2 separate regions of the Homo sapiens genome follow, and region 1 is linked to region 2. Evidence: promoter capture Hi-C in human tissues and cell types (Jung and others, 2019). All regions are on one chromosome and are shown on one strand. The core of a region is centred on a gene start or on the middle of the fragment in contact, and the rest is flanking DNA. Distances in the headings are between cores, read along the strand shown.

Evidence for each region. The method cuts DNA at HindIII sites, captures the fragments that hold promoters and counts their contacts. A contact is called where the count stands out against the background at its distance.
Region 1: a contact is called between a fragment that was not itself captured here and the fragment with the promoter of DST in region 2, in 1 of the 25 tissues and cell types used here (hippocampus).

What each region holds. Positions count from the first base shown.
Region 1 is chr6:56,645,768-56,652,207 of GRCh38, reverse strand. DST (dystonin) reads left to right here. Exons shown (of 104, transcript NM_001374736.1): 11 at 964-1,076; 12 at 1,176-1,282; 13 at 3,519-3,638; 14 at 6,026-6,121; 15 at 6,215-6,342. Among named protein-coding and RNA genes, the nearest start is that of DST-AS1, 190 kb to the left of the region's middle. The HindIII fragment of the contact is 5,250 bases long and covers 1-4,428 here.
Region 2 is chr6:56,951,092-56,957,552 of GRCh38, reverse strand. DST (dystonin) reads left to right here and starts at 2,723. Exons shown (of 104, transcript NM_001374736.1): 1 at 2,723-3,146; 2 at 3,734-3,768. The coding sequence starts at 2,966. BEND6 (BEN domain containing 6) reads right to left here and starts at 2,446. Exons shown (of 7, transcript NM_152731.3): 1 at 2,093-2,446. RefSeq lists a silencer at 2,258-2,947 and an enhancer at 3,109-3,740. The HindIII fragment of the contact is 8,212 bases long and covers 1-6,461 here.

The DNA of each region.
Region 1 (6,440 bases), core at 554-3,053, 300 kb after region 2:
TAGAGCTAGCTTCAAAGTTTCTGCATGGTTTAGGGTGTTACGTAAATCTCACAAATTATAAAGATATGAAGTCTGGGATGTGTGACTGTGTGTGTGTGTAGGGGGGCACATGCACACATGTGTGCTCATGAAAACATAAACTATTGCTTATTATAGACATTCATTTATGATTCAGATTACTAAGGAACCAACCTACTTACCAACTTATCAGTAGATATTTGTTGAGGGTGTACTATATATCATTCTTTATTACAGCAGAAGGATAAAATACAAAATTTTCTTAATACATAGTACTTGCTATCTTGGAGTTGACGGTTTGGGAGAAACAACATATACATGTACACGAACCAGTGAATTAATAGGGCAAGGAGTCTAAGATTATCCTAAGTGCCATATCGTGGGGTGCAGGCTGGAAGTATGAGTTCAGGAAACAGAGACAGAAATAAGGGCTAGGAAGATCAGCCAGGCTCCATAGAGGAGGTGGAGCTTGATCTCTCCTTGGAAGAATGACTAGGATTATAGAAGACAAAGATGATGTGAAAGGGTATGGTGCAATGGGGAGGCCATGGACACAGCACTGAATTAAGCTACAAGCTTTTTGTCTTAGAGGAAAAACATTGACAGGATGCTGGTTGGATTGGAAAGATGCTGTTGGAGTAGCGTAGCTTAAATCAGTTGAATAGGACAAATACTCATATATATTCTGACTATGATATATTTGTAGACTTTGTTGAAATTTATATATGTTCAAATTGTTATATTTTCATTGTTATATTTGCTTTCGATACAGAAGTTTCTGAGATAAGTGAGCAATGTTAAATGTTTGATGAAAGTCTCTGCATTTTAACGCAGGCTTGGTGTTAATATTAGCAGATGTTGTTATGTAAATGGAAACCTATATAATTATATAATGTTGAATTGGCACATGAGAAAACCTAATTAACACAGTGAATTTTTTCCTAGGCCGGACCTGATAGATATGAATACTGTTGCTGTTCAAAGCAACCTTGCAAATTTAGAGCATGCTTTTTACGTAGCAGAAAAAATTGGTGTTATAAGACTTCTGGACCCTGAAGGTGAGTTATTTTCTTGATTATATGTGGACTGGCATGAAAGTCTGATCAAAAGTAATTTATCAACATTGTGAAATAATTAATTTATGTTGCTGTTTTTAGATGTCGATGTCTCCTCACCTGATGAAAAATCAGTAATAACTTACGTGTCATCTCTCTATGATGCATTTCCTAAAGTCCCTGAAGGTGGGGAAGGCATTGGTGCAAATGTGAGTATTGATTTTTCCACACCGGAAGCTGTTGATTCAGTAATGACCAATTGACTGCATTTATTGATAATGATTTTTGCAGTTTTTGAATGTTGAATATATTTTAAAGAATTTGAGTTAATATGCTGTTTGATGAATTGATATTCTATGTATTTCATGACATTATTCTACCATTAAATTTAAAGTATAACTCATTAAAACTTTTGTGTCATAAATAAAAGAGGCTATTTATAGTTACCGATCATCTTATAAATAAAAGGTTTAACTTTCTGAAATTTAGAGTTTTCCATTTTTAGCTGGCTGCCGTTTTACATTGCTGTATTTGCTATTCTTTTGTATGTATAGAATATCTCAGTTTTGAAAACAATTTCAAATTTGTTACTTCATACGATTCTATGAAATAAGTTGGCTTGATAACATTTTTGTGATTTAAAGGAGGACTCCAGAGGAAAATTATTGGATTTGGCCAAATTAGCAGAGCCACTTAGTAAGCAGGGAAAGGTCTCTGACACATAGCTTTGGGCTGTTTATTAGTCTACTATTTCTTAAAGGTTTGTGTAACTCACTTCAGTGATGCTTTTTTTTTTTTTTTTTTTTTTTGGGTGGTTATGCTAACAAGTGCTTATGCATTTCTGAAGAGAACAGGAAGCCCAGTATGTGTCACATATTTGGGGATGATCCCCTTCACTTGGATTTCTGCCTTCCTCTTTGCAGACACCTTTTTTCCCCTACATTACTTTGAAGATTTAGGAGCTCATCTTTGATTAGCTCCCCTGGATTAGGAGCTCCCTTTTCTGATTGCTTCTGTCAGTTCTCTGTGCTGTTTCTAGACCTGTTTCCATATTCTTCCTCAGGTTCTTCTTTTCAAAGGCTTCATGCTCTTTGATCCCTGAGTAGCCTGTTCCCATGCTCACCCCTGATGATTCAATGTTGAGCGTTGCTTCAGAATGTTTCTTTGGCCATCTCTTGCTGCTGCTTCTCCCAACCTTCATGCTGATCCTGCTGCCTATTACTGCAGAACTAGGCCGATAGCTTTCCTACAGCTTTCTGTCTCCATTTTGTTCTTCTTCCCACTGCCTCGGCACACTGTTGCCAAATTAATCTGTCTAAAACCTGATGTCTTTGGCTTGAAAATTTTCAGTGTCTACATATTCCTTGCAAAGTTAAATGCAATCTAGATATTCTGACATTTAAAACTGCAAATATTTATTCTGTTTACCTACATGTTTTAGCTATGATTTCCCAATATGAACTGTTTACTGGTAGCCAGGACATTTCCATGTCAATGTCCTGACTCACTTGGGACTCCCCTTTTATCCACTCTTTCAGCACCCCCACTCACCTCCCCCCATCAATAATTACTTACTGGTCATTGCAGAACATCTCAGATACTGCCTTTCCCAAGAAGCCTTTAGAAACTATTTTAAGGCACAGATATGCTTGCCTGATTCTTATCTCAACTAGCATGTACTACCCGTTTTAGTTATTTCAACATTTCAACACTTAATTAAATACTGCTCTTCATTTTGCCTGTTTATATTATGTATCTCTCTTGCCTCTGCATTTAGACAGTAACTCCTTGACAATAGGTATTATATCTTAAAGTATTTTTTTATTATAACACTCAACACAACCTTTGAACATAATAATAAGCACTCATCAAATACTTAAACAGAGCAGTTGGCAGCCTTCCAAGTTTCCTCCATTTTTAAAGAGTTTGCCTACTGAGTACTTGGATAATCCCACCATATACATTTCCTGTAGTTTGTGTACATATCTGGTTTCCTATATATTGGGTAAGTCTTTTGAGTTTGAGATACATAGTAGATTTAGATCTAAAATAGTTGGCAAAGATGGCAACTAACTTGGCTTATGCAAGTTGTTACTGCCCAATCTTGAGCCCTGGTAAACACCCCAAATTGACTTTGGATTTTTTTCTGCTGTGCTTAGATTGAGCCCCAAAAGCCTTCTAAATACAATACCCCAGGCAGCCACTTTCTTTGGATCAGAATTGGCACTCATAAGGCTAGTGTTAGTGGCCAAATGTTGATAGCAAATTTTACAGGTGTTTATGTGACAGGGATTGGGGCTGGGTGAAAGTAAGAAAACATTTAGCTGGTTCTGTCTGTCAGGCTTCAAATACATACATTTACAGAATGACTTCTGACTAAATTGTCTTAGATATGAATGTTATTATCTACAGATGTGAACCTTTTCTATCATTTGATTGTTCTAGGATGTTGAAGTCAAATGGATTGAATACCAGAATATGGTGAACTACCTCATCCAATGGATTAGACACCATGTGACCACAATGTCTGAGAGAACATTTCCTAATAATCCTGTAGAACTGAAGGTTAGTGTCACTGTAGAAATTACATAGGATTGATTCAATTGTAAACCCTTAAGTAATGCTATAATAATTCTGTAATTTTAGAAGTTCAACAAAAGTTGCCCTTGGAAAGCCATTAATAAGTAGGCAAAATTTGTATTACTCATTTCTCTTATTATACAGAGAAAATGGAGGTAAAACATTAACAATTAAAACAGATTAGCTGTAGTCACTCAGCTTTGGTTGAGAGGTTAAAGGTTTAATTTGAGAGAGTCTCTGAAACTGACATTGTCAGATTGATTTTAGTACATGGGAAATGCTTGCAGCCCCCGAGATGGCTTGAGGTAGAAGGGACCCTGGGAAGTACATACAAGTGTGGCACTGGATTGGGGGTGTGCCTGTGGTTGAGCCCTGTTAAAAACTGCTTCTTTTGTGCAGGAAGCATCTTTTGTGCAGGAAGAGGTACACAGTATTTCACCATGAATTTGAAAATACATGTCTGACTTCCAGTATAAGTGAATTCATGGTTTAGTAAAACATTTGCTAATACTGAAAAACTTAGGGCAAGCTTTTGAGGCAAAGACATTGCAGATATAAAAGCCATTATAGGCCGGGTGCGGTGGGTCACACCCGTAATCCCAGCACTTTGGGAGGCCAAGATGGGTGGATCACCTGAGGTCAGGAGTTTGAGACCAGCCTGGCTAACATGGTGAAACCCCATCTCTATTAAAAATACAAAAATCAGCCTGGCGTGGTGGCACACACTTGTAATCCCAGTTACTCAGGAGGCTGAGGCAGGAGAATCGCTTGAACCTGGGAGGTGGAGGTTGCAGTAAGCCGAGATCGCATCACTGCACTCCATCCTGGGCGAGAGAGCAAGACTCCGTCTCAAAAAAAAAAAAAAACATTACAAAAAGCCATTACAAATATGTAAACTTATTAAAGAGTAAGTTGTCTCATTTGTATATTTGGTTTTATAATAGCAAAGTGGTCTACTTTATTTCTAGAAGCTGATAATGCGAATATTGCCGACAAAGCCTTAATTCTTTGGTTTGTAAGCTTTATTTTCATGATCAAACTGGGATAGAAAAAACTGTAATAACCTAGGGTGAGCTCCATTAGAGTTATTCATTGTGCTCCTGCATCCGTACAGAATATCTGTAGAACAGCTTTCATTCTCATTGCCACGGGGAGTTTGTCCTTGGCACGAAATTACTTGGCATCTGATGATATGATACTTTTTAAGTGTTCTCAAGCTGTTTGTGTGATGTTTCCCTACATGGACATGTAATTTTCCAGGGCAGGAAAACTTTTCCCTACAACGACCATGTGGTGCCATGAACAGTGTTTAGCACACAGGAGTATTCGGTGCTTAATGACCAACAGACGTCCTGAAACATTGCATTCTGATTTCAAAACCATTTTCAGATTTCATGTTCAAATACACTTATTTCCAAATGGATTTCCATTGTCCAGACCCTTGGATGAATTGTACTGGCTTCTGGTTAGTGTAGATTCTTAGTTATAGAAGAAGTGATCAGAGTACTTGCTGATGACTAGAACAAGACATAGATTAGGAAAGAAAATACATCATGGGGAAATGCCAGATAATTGCATTAGCAGAACTTTGAATGGAATCCTTCAGAAATGTGTCATCCTAAAGATTTACAGGGTCTTGTTTTGTAGCTGCATGAATTACAATGAAGTAATTAGTACATACCTATTAAATATGGAGATACATTATCTACATAATTTTTATGAAGGTCCCTTTTAATAAATACACTGTATTTAAGAGGTTCCCAAATTAATGTATACAAACTAGATAGTAACTTAATTACACGGTTGAAACTTCTGTAATAATAGCCCCATCAACTAATAGCATCTACCTTCATTTGTTCAAAAAATCTGTTTAAATTTGCCAGTGGGACATTGAAACTAAATTTTAGCCCTTTCTGCTAAGAAGTTTTTTTTTTTTGAAGGATAGAACCATGCAATAGAAGAGAGTTTTTTTATTGCTTTCTTTATGGGAATTGCTTCAAATTATTTTTCCAAAGACTGAAAGCTAAAGTGCAGCATTTGGGAAGTGCATCTTTTAAAGGGTATGTTTTCTTGTTTGGAGGATGAGAGATTTTTAGTAGAGCACTAGTAAACACTGAATGGTTTATTATTATCCAGATCCCCCTGTGGCACTAAATCATGGCTCACATCAATAATTACACCCTCATCAAATTTTAGATAACCCACGTCACCAGCTGGCTGGAAATTGGTATTGTCTTTGAGTGTCGGTTTAACAAAGGAATTCCACTGACTGCATATGATACAGTACATAACACTTGAAGTGGTGGCTTAGTGAGATCATGAAAACAGATCTTTTAAGTTTGGTCCTTAATTTCTTGTCCTTTTTATTTTAGGCACTTTATAATCAGTATTTACAGTTTAAAGAAACAGAAATTCCACCAAAGGAGACAGAAAAATCAAAAATTAAACGTCTATATAAATTATTAGAGGTAAGCTCAAATTTGCTTTGTATTGTCAAGCATAGTCTTTGTTTTGTTTTGTTTTCATTTTTGCTTCACATTAAAGTTTTTTGTTTTCTCAAGATTTGGATAGAATTTGGACGCATCAAGCTCCTTCAAGGTTATCATCCAAATGACATAGAAAAAGAGTGGGGGAAACTCATTATTGCCATGCTAGAGAGAGAGAAGGCCCTTCGTCCAGAAGTAGAAAGGTAGGCCAGAGGTGTTTTCTGCCATGAATATCAAGTGGGGAGGGGGCCTTTGTGTTCTTGTGAAAGAACTTAAGTTAAACCTCTGTTTACTTGGCCTT
Region 2 (6,461 bases), core at 1,474-3,973:
TCTACTAAATTAACTTCCAAAAAGCACTGCTTGGCTGATTTAGTATTTATTGAATTCCGCAATGCATTAGGCACCACATAAACACACAGACAGAAGCAATTAATACTATGTATGCTGTTATTTGGAAAAAATGATAAATTAGCAACAAACAAATCAGAAAATAACAATGGAACTAAATACTAAATTCTTTCAAGGATTTGGTTTGTTTATTATTAGTATCTTTAAGACAACTGATGGAAAGAACAGAAATGAATGCATCTAAAAAGAAATATCTATAATCCTATTGCATGGCAGTTAAGCATTTGCCTGCCAAGAGAGATAAATGATGTTCTTGTGTGCACTTGAAACTTATAAATGGCTGCAGCAAGACGCAGGATGATAACAGTTGTGCTAAAGTCATAGCTCAGAAAACCATAATAGCTATTTAGTTGCTTTTTGTTGTTAAAAAAATATAGCGTTTGGGGCAATTTGAATACTATTCTGTGTGTCTTTGACATGTTTCTGTTCAAGGATACGTAGGCTATTTCAGCTCACTTACAAATTTCAGTCAATGAGAAGCATAAAGATGACCTTCCAAAATTCTGTTAGTTATTTCCCCCAATGTCTGCACACGGTTAGTTCAGTTTTGTTGTTTAAAATTACTCCACCATGCCATTGTTGAGTCAATGCGGTGGAGAATTCTTCCTTTCCTGATGTGCCACACATTGCAAACTCTCAGGATTTTCTTCAATAACCTCTGCATAATTGTTGAATAGTTTCTCACTGCAGTGGGCTGCGGTATCAAGAAACCTTTAGCCATATGCACATGATGTAGTGCTACCTGTCACCCACTCTGAGTGCTAGAGACCCATGAAGCCTATCCTGGAATTCAGTGCAGCCTACATGCTGCCATTCAAAATTCCCACCTTATGCAGTGTCTCCAAGCAAGGGCCCTTCTGAGTTCAATCCAAAACAACTGAATGAATGAGATGCAACATGTCAACAATTCGAATGTTTATTTTGTTTAAGGAAACCAGCTGTAAACAAAACGTATCTGTTGTTTTCCATGCTTATGAATCTGGCACTAAGAGACTGCATTAACCAATGCCTTTTTAGGTTTAATACTTACACACGGTAATATGTTACTGGCTTTAAGGACATCAATGATTAAGCTTTCATGCAGAGCTGTACGGTTTTGTATAGTTGGAAAACAACACTGATTTTGAGATCACTACAAGCAAATAAAACTTTTATTCCTCCCAATTATTTACCTGCTTTTCAAATTTTTATAAATTTTTATGACACAATTTCTTCAGTCTATTAAATATTCCAAAAAAGAGGCTAATACAGTTGTTATAAGAAACTCCGCAAATGCAGTCAAGTGTTACCTTGTCACTATAATTAAAGTTTTCTTATGCGAGTAAATGAAACAAACAATCCAGCCCCACACAGGGAAAGCCAGCATTGCCTTGGGGGCAGCAGAACGCGGCACAGCACCGCCCGCCAAGGCCGCAAGATGCCGCAGAATGACTGCTGCAGCAGCCGCTTCCTGGCCAGGTGGCCGTGGCCGTCCGCAGAAAGGCACACTGCAGCGCTCTCGCTATACCTTCCGTGCTGGCATTGCATCAGTGTTAAATCCCCTGGCCACCAACTGCCATATACTTTTTGCTGGTTATGAAGAAACGTGGGGAGGGGACAAAGGGGAGACAGAGTGTGCCTGCAAGTGTGAGAGATCACTATTGCCTCACACTCCCTAAAAAATTTCTCCCCCAAATGTTTATAAGCCAAGTACCAACTTACTTCATCTGCCAGGTCCCTAAATCTGAAATCGCCTTGCCCTTCAAATGCACTAAATGAGTCAGGGTTTTAGGGCAAACCCAGGGATACAAGAAGATCGAAAGTGCCCAATTCTTAGCTGCGAGATAAGCACCAAGTTTGGGGTGGAAGAGTTCACCTCTGCCGACCAGAGCGTACTACCCCGGAGCGCTCCTAGTTTAGAGAGGCTTGGAGAGGAGTGGGCCTCCCGTTCCTGGAGTATCCCAATTCCCAGGGAAGGCCCTTCCCGGCGCTCGCGCTTCAGAGTGCGAGGAAACCCCCACAAGCAATAGCTCACCCGGCTGCATTCTTCAAAGCCCCAACCTCGGGGCGGGGCGCAGGGAGGTGGGAGGTGGAGGGTAGCACCGCCGGGAGGCTCCTGTCAGCGCCTCTCGGTTTTCCCCCTGGCTCCTTGGCGCCCCCTGACGACGGGCTCCGCAGCAATTTGGCCGAGGGAGGCTGGATAGGCGGAAGCTCCGGGTGTCCGGGAAGCTAGAGGCACCCGGCCAATGCACCCGCGGACGGCGCGGACTGGCGGGCGGCCCCGCGGGAGGGCGCTGGGCTCTCAGGCCCGGGTGCAGCCCGCGGACGCCGCCGAAACCGCCGCAGCCATGTCCGCGCGCCCGCGCTGCCGCAGCCTGGCCGTGATGTCATCAGCCGAGCCCCCGCCGCGGCGCCCCATTCCCGCCCCCCGCAGGCTGCCGCGGCTGCAGCCTGAGCGCCGCGTCCCCGCCCCGACCCACGTGCGCCCGGCTTCTGGGATGCTGAGGTCGGCGGCGGCCGCAGGACGATGCGCGGGGCCCGGGCGGCCGCGGCGGCGGCGCTGCTCCTCCCCACTCGCCGCGTCCCCGGCGGGGCTGCGCCCGGGGGCTGCGCACGGACGGGGGCGGGGGCGCCTGGGGAGGGAGGGGAGAGGATCCCAGCCGCCGAGTCGCAGCCTCGTCGCTGTCTGCTGAGTCATGGCAAGCGCTCCCCGCAGCCCTGGATCACTCGCGTAGCGCGGCTGGCGCGGGGTGCGCAGCCATTGGGCTGGGCGCGGGGCCGCGAGCGCCAGGCATGACGCGCTGAGCCGCGCTCACCCGTGCCCGCCGTCCCGGCGTGCGCCCAGCGCGGGTGCCTGTGCCGCCGCCCTCCAGCCCCGCCGTCGAGTCGCCCTCGCCTCGCCCGCACCATGATCGCCGCGGCTTTCCTCGTCTTGCTGAGACCCTACAGCATCCAATGTGCCCTCTTCCTCTTGTTGCTTCTGCTGGGCACCATCGCCACCATCGTCTTCTTCTGCTGCTGGCACCGCAAGCTCCAGAAAGGGAGGCATCCGATGAAATCGGTCTTCTCGGGTCGTTCAAGAAGCCGAGGTAAGACACGCCGCGACGGGTTTCTGCGGGCTACCAGGAACAATTAAGCCGATTTGGAGAGTGAAGCGCGGCTCGCTCCCTTCTCCTCGGCTGCCCCTAGCCCCATCATTGCCCACTCCCCAGGCTGAGTGCGTTTCTTTAACGCCCCTTGCCCTTTTTGCCGTCACCTCCGCCCTCCAGTCTCCCAGGTTTGAATAACCACGGCGATGCCGAGGGCAGGGAGGGGAGGAAAGAACTCAAATTTTTAGTCAGTTTGCTAAAGCCTTAAGGGTAATTTGAGCGTAGTCCGGGGCTGCGCCAGCCTCGCCTTCACGCATCCTTCGCTGGAGCGTAGGGGTAAGAAAGTAAGGCATGGAAACTTCGGGGCTCCCCAACTCCCCCAGAACTTTCATGCAAACTTCTCGCGGAGAAATCACGTAGAGACCGATGGCCCCAGGACTCCTCCTCCCTCCCCCAGGATGTCCCACCGAATTCCAGGAGTCTGCGATGTGCTTTCCCAACCCTGGTCTCCCAGGTAAGTCATGAGTCACTCGGTAGGTGAAGAACAAGGAGTTAAATGAAGTCTCATTTATCTCTTTTCTCCCCAGATGCTGTTTTGAGATCGCACCACTTTCGTTCTGAGGTAATTTATTTAGCGCGCACGCTCAAGGTCAGAAGAAGTTCTCTTTCCTGAGTACCAATATTAATTATATGCGTGTTAAGAAACCAGTAGGACACTGAATGACGAACATGCTGTCCCCTAGCCGAAAGTGGCATGTTTCCTTTTAAGTGATTTCATATTAGTGCCCAGCGAACGGTTTTAGCAAATTTCTTGTGTAGTGGAGCTGTTGTACAAGAGGGGAAAAGGCAAACCCTAAAAGTGCTGCAGACCTTAAAAAACTTAGCCACAGGGTGGATGTCACTTGAGTTTACAGTTTATATTTTGCTGGTGGAAGTGTTTTCTGGGTGCTGTCAGTTGACTCTGGTTGTTCACTTGGATAAACGAAGAGGTTAGTGCAGAACAATTTGATCCATATGCATTTCATTTTCGATTTTCAAGTTTACATTTCTGTTTTCTCCTAAAGCTCTCCATGTTTTATTGGGGACCATCTGATGATTTTTGCAAAGCGATGATGGTAGTGTGTGCTTAAATGCTTGTGCTAGTCTCCACTCTCAAAACGTGGACCATCCCTCTAGGGCAAGTAACTCCTAATCACTGCACCCAGGAACCAGCTCCACTGAAGAAACACAAGCGCTCCTTGACCTAGGATTTCTTTAGGAGTTTTCAGGCCAACCTCCACTTATCCTAAGATAATTTCCCCTCTTTTTAGGAAAGTTGCACGCCGCCAGGCTTGGAGGTTGCTGCTTGGTGCAGTTTACTCATGTTGGCAAAGACTTCATAGTTAAACGCCCTCCATTTACCTGAAGTTATCTTGCCTTTCATTTCATTAGTTAATCAGATATTTTATGCCACCCTAGATGTTTTATTGGGTTCTAGTTGCTTAAAAACTTTAACTGTATTATTGCAATATCATTAAAATGTTGCACAAAGAGTAATTCTACTGTATATAGCCCTGGAAGGTGAGAACTCTATTCAGTTTAGGATTCTTGAGAGGATAAGTGAGGTAATCAGAGGTTCCATTCCTGGCTTTACATTAACTAGCTGTGTGATACATCTCGGTGCCTCGATTTACCCATCTGTAAGATAGGGCCATTAGTACCTTGCAGGGTTATGGGAGGGTGGAGGAAATTACAAGAAATTGTGTAAAGAAAAATCCCACTTAGTTCATAATAAGTATTCAGTATTTGGTAGCTATCATTATATTTTGTAAAATTGAATTTTAAAATGTATAAAAATAAACGATAATGTTTGCAAATTTCCAAGTCTTTATTAAATTACTTAATTAAAGTTTATGGAAAACATCAAAAACCGGGACTATCGTAAAGCAACAATTTTTGAATATGAGATTAATTCAATAGAACAGCCCATTCAGATGTGATGAGAAGTAAATAATTGACAGAGTGCAAACACCAAAATATAAGATTTTGATTTTAAAAAGAGATACCCAGTTCCACACACATAAATGATAGAACAAGAATAATAATCCTGTTTTGGATTATTATACTAGCCATCAGATATTTCAGCTAAAGCACAAACAAAAAATGAGATACAACTATGTCTTGTTTAATTATCTCTCAGTTGAATATTTTTGTTCTGAGCTTGCATTTGGTTAGGAAAGCTGGGGGTAGTTGTTTAATGCCTTAACTCACTTCATAAGATTCCTGGTACAGTTTGACATCTTTGTGTGGTATTTGCCTTGTCTACTAGACTGTGAGCTCCTTGAGGGCAGGACCATATCTTTCTTGTTTAGGGCTGTATCCCCACTATTTGGCTCAGTGCCTTGTATACAGTGGGTTATTAATAAATATTTATTGAATGAATGAATGAAAAAAAAAATCTCCTAGTGGGTGCTAGTTCCTGAAACTGGGCAAATAGAACTCAGAGTTGGGCAGAAAAGAAAAATGCACATTCTCAGGACATCGCTCAGAATTCAACATTTGCTAAATCTCAACTCTTACTGGATCTTTGCAGGCTTTTAAAAATTGCCCTGGAGTTTGTGCTAAAAATGTAAGTCACAAATTGAAACAAAATGGATTCGGTTTGAATTTTTTTCTGAAAAATTTAAATGCAATATTAGTTTAATTTGTTGATGGGCTACCCATCAGCAAGCTGTTTTGATAAACCACTCAAAGAATGCCATTTATAAGTGAAAATTATGGGACTGTGTTGCAAAAGAATGTCATGTTTCATCACTACTTTGCTTACATAAATGAAATATTTTCCCTTAAGGAAAACATAGGGAATATTTTTCTTTTCTCTTTTCTATCAAGATGCCATTTTCTGCAAGATTTTCTCTTTGAGAAATACCTCTGAATTTACTTGGTTTTAAACATATTTTAAAAAATAGAATTTGTGTAGCATAATGAATATTCTTGTTGCTTTTTAGTAGTAGCTGCTGCAAAATAATTATTCAAGAAAATATTTTGATTTCTGACAAATCATAGTCATATTGAACTAAGAATTTAGTACTTTCTGTTTCTCCTTCCATTCTCAGTAAGTAGATTAACTCACTTTCAGCATTTCTACCATGGTCAAAGGAGGAAAATGAGTTTAGGATCTGCTGACTCACTTTGAACCATGAAAAAGCTTTGGGCTAGCCCTTGTACAGATGAAGAAGTTCAGTGAGTACTTTGATGCTCTACTTGGCAGAATGTATTGCTTCTGGTACCCACACGCCCAGGAAGGAGTCCAATTGCACAGGAAGTTTTAGCCGG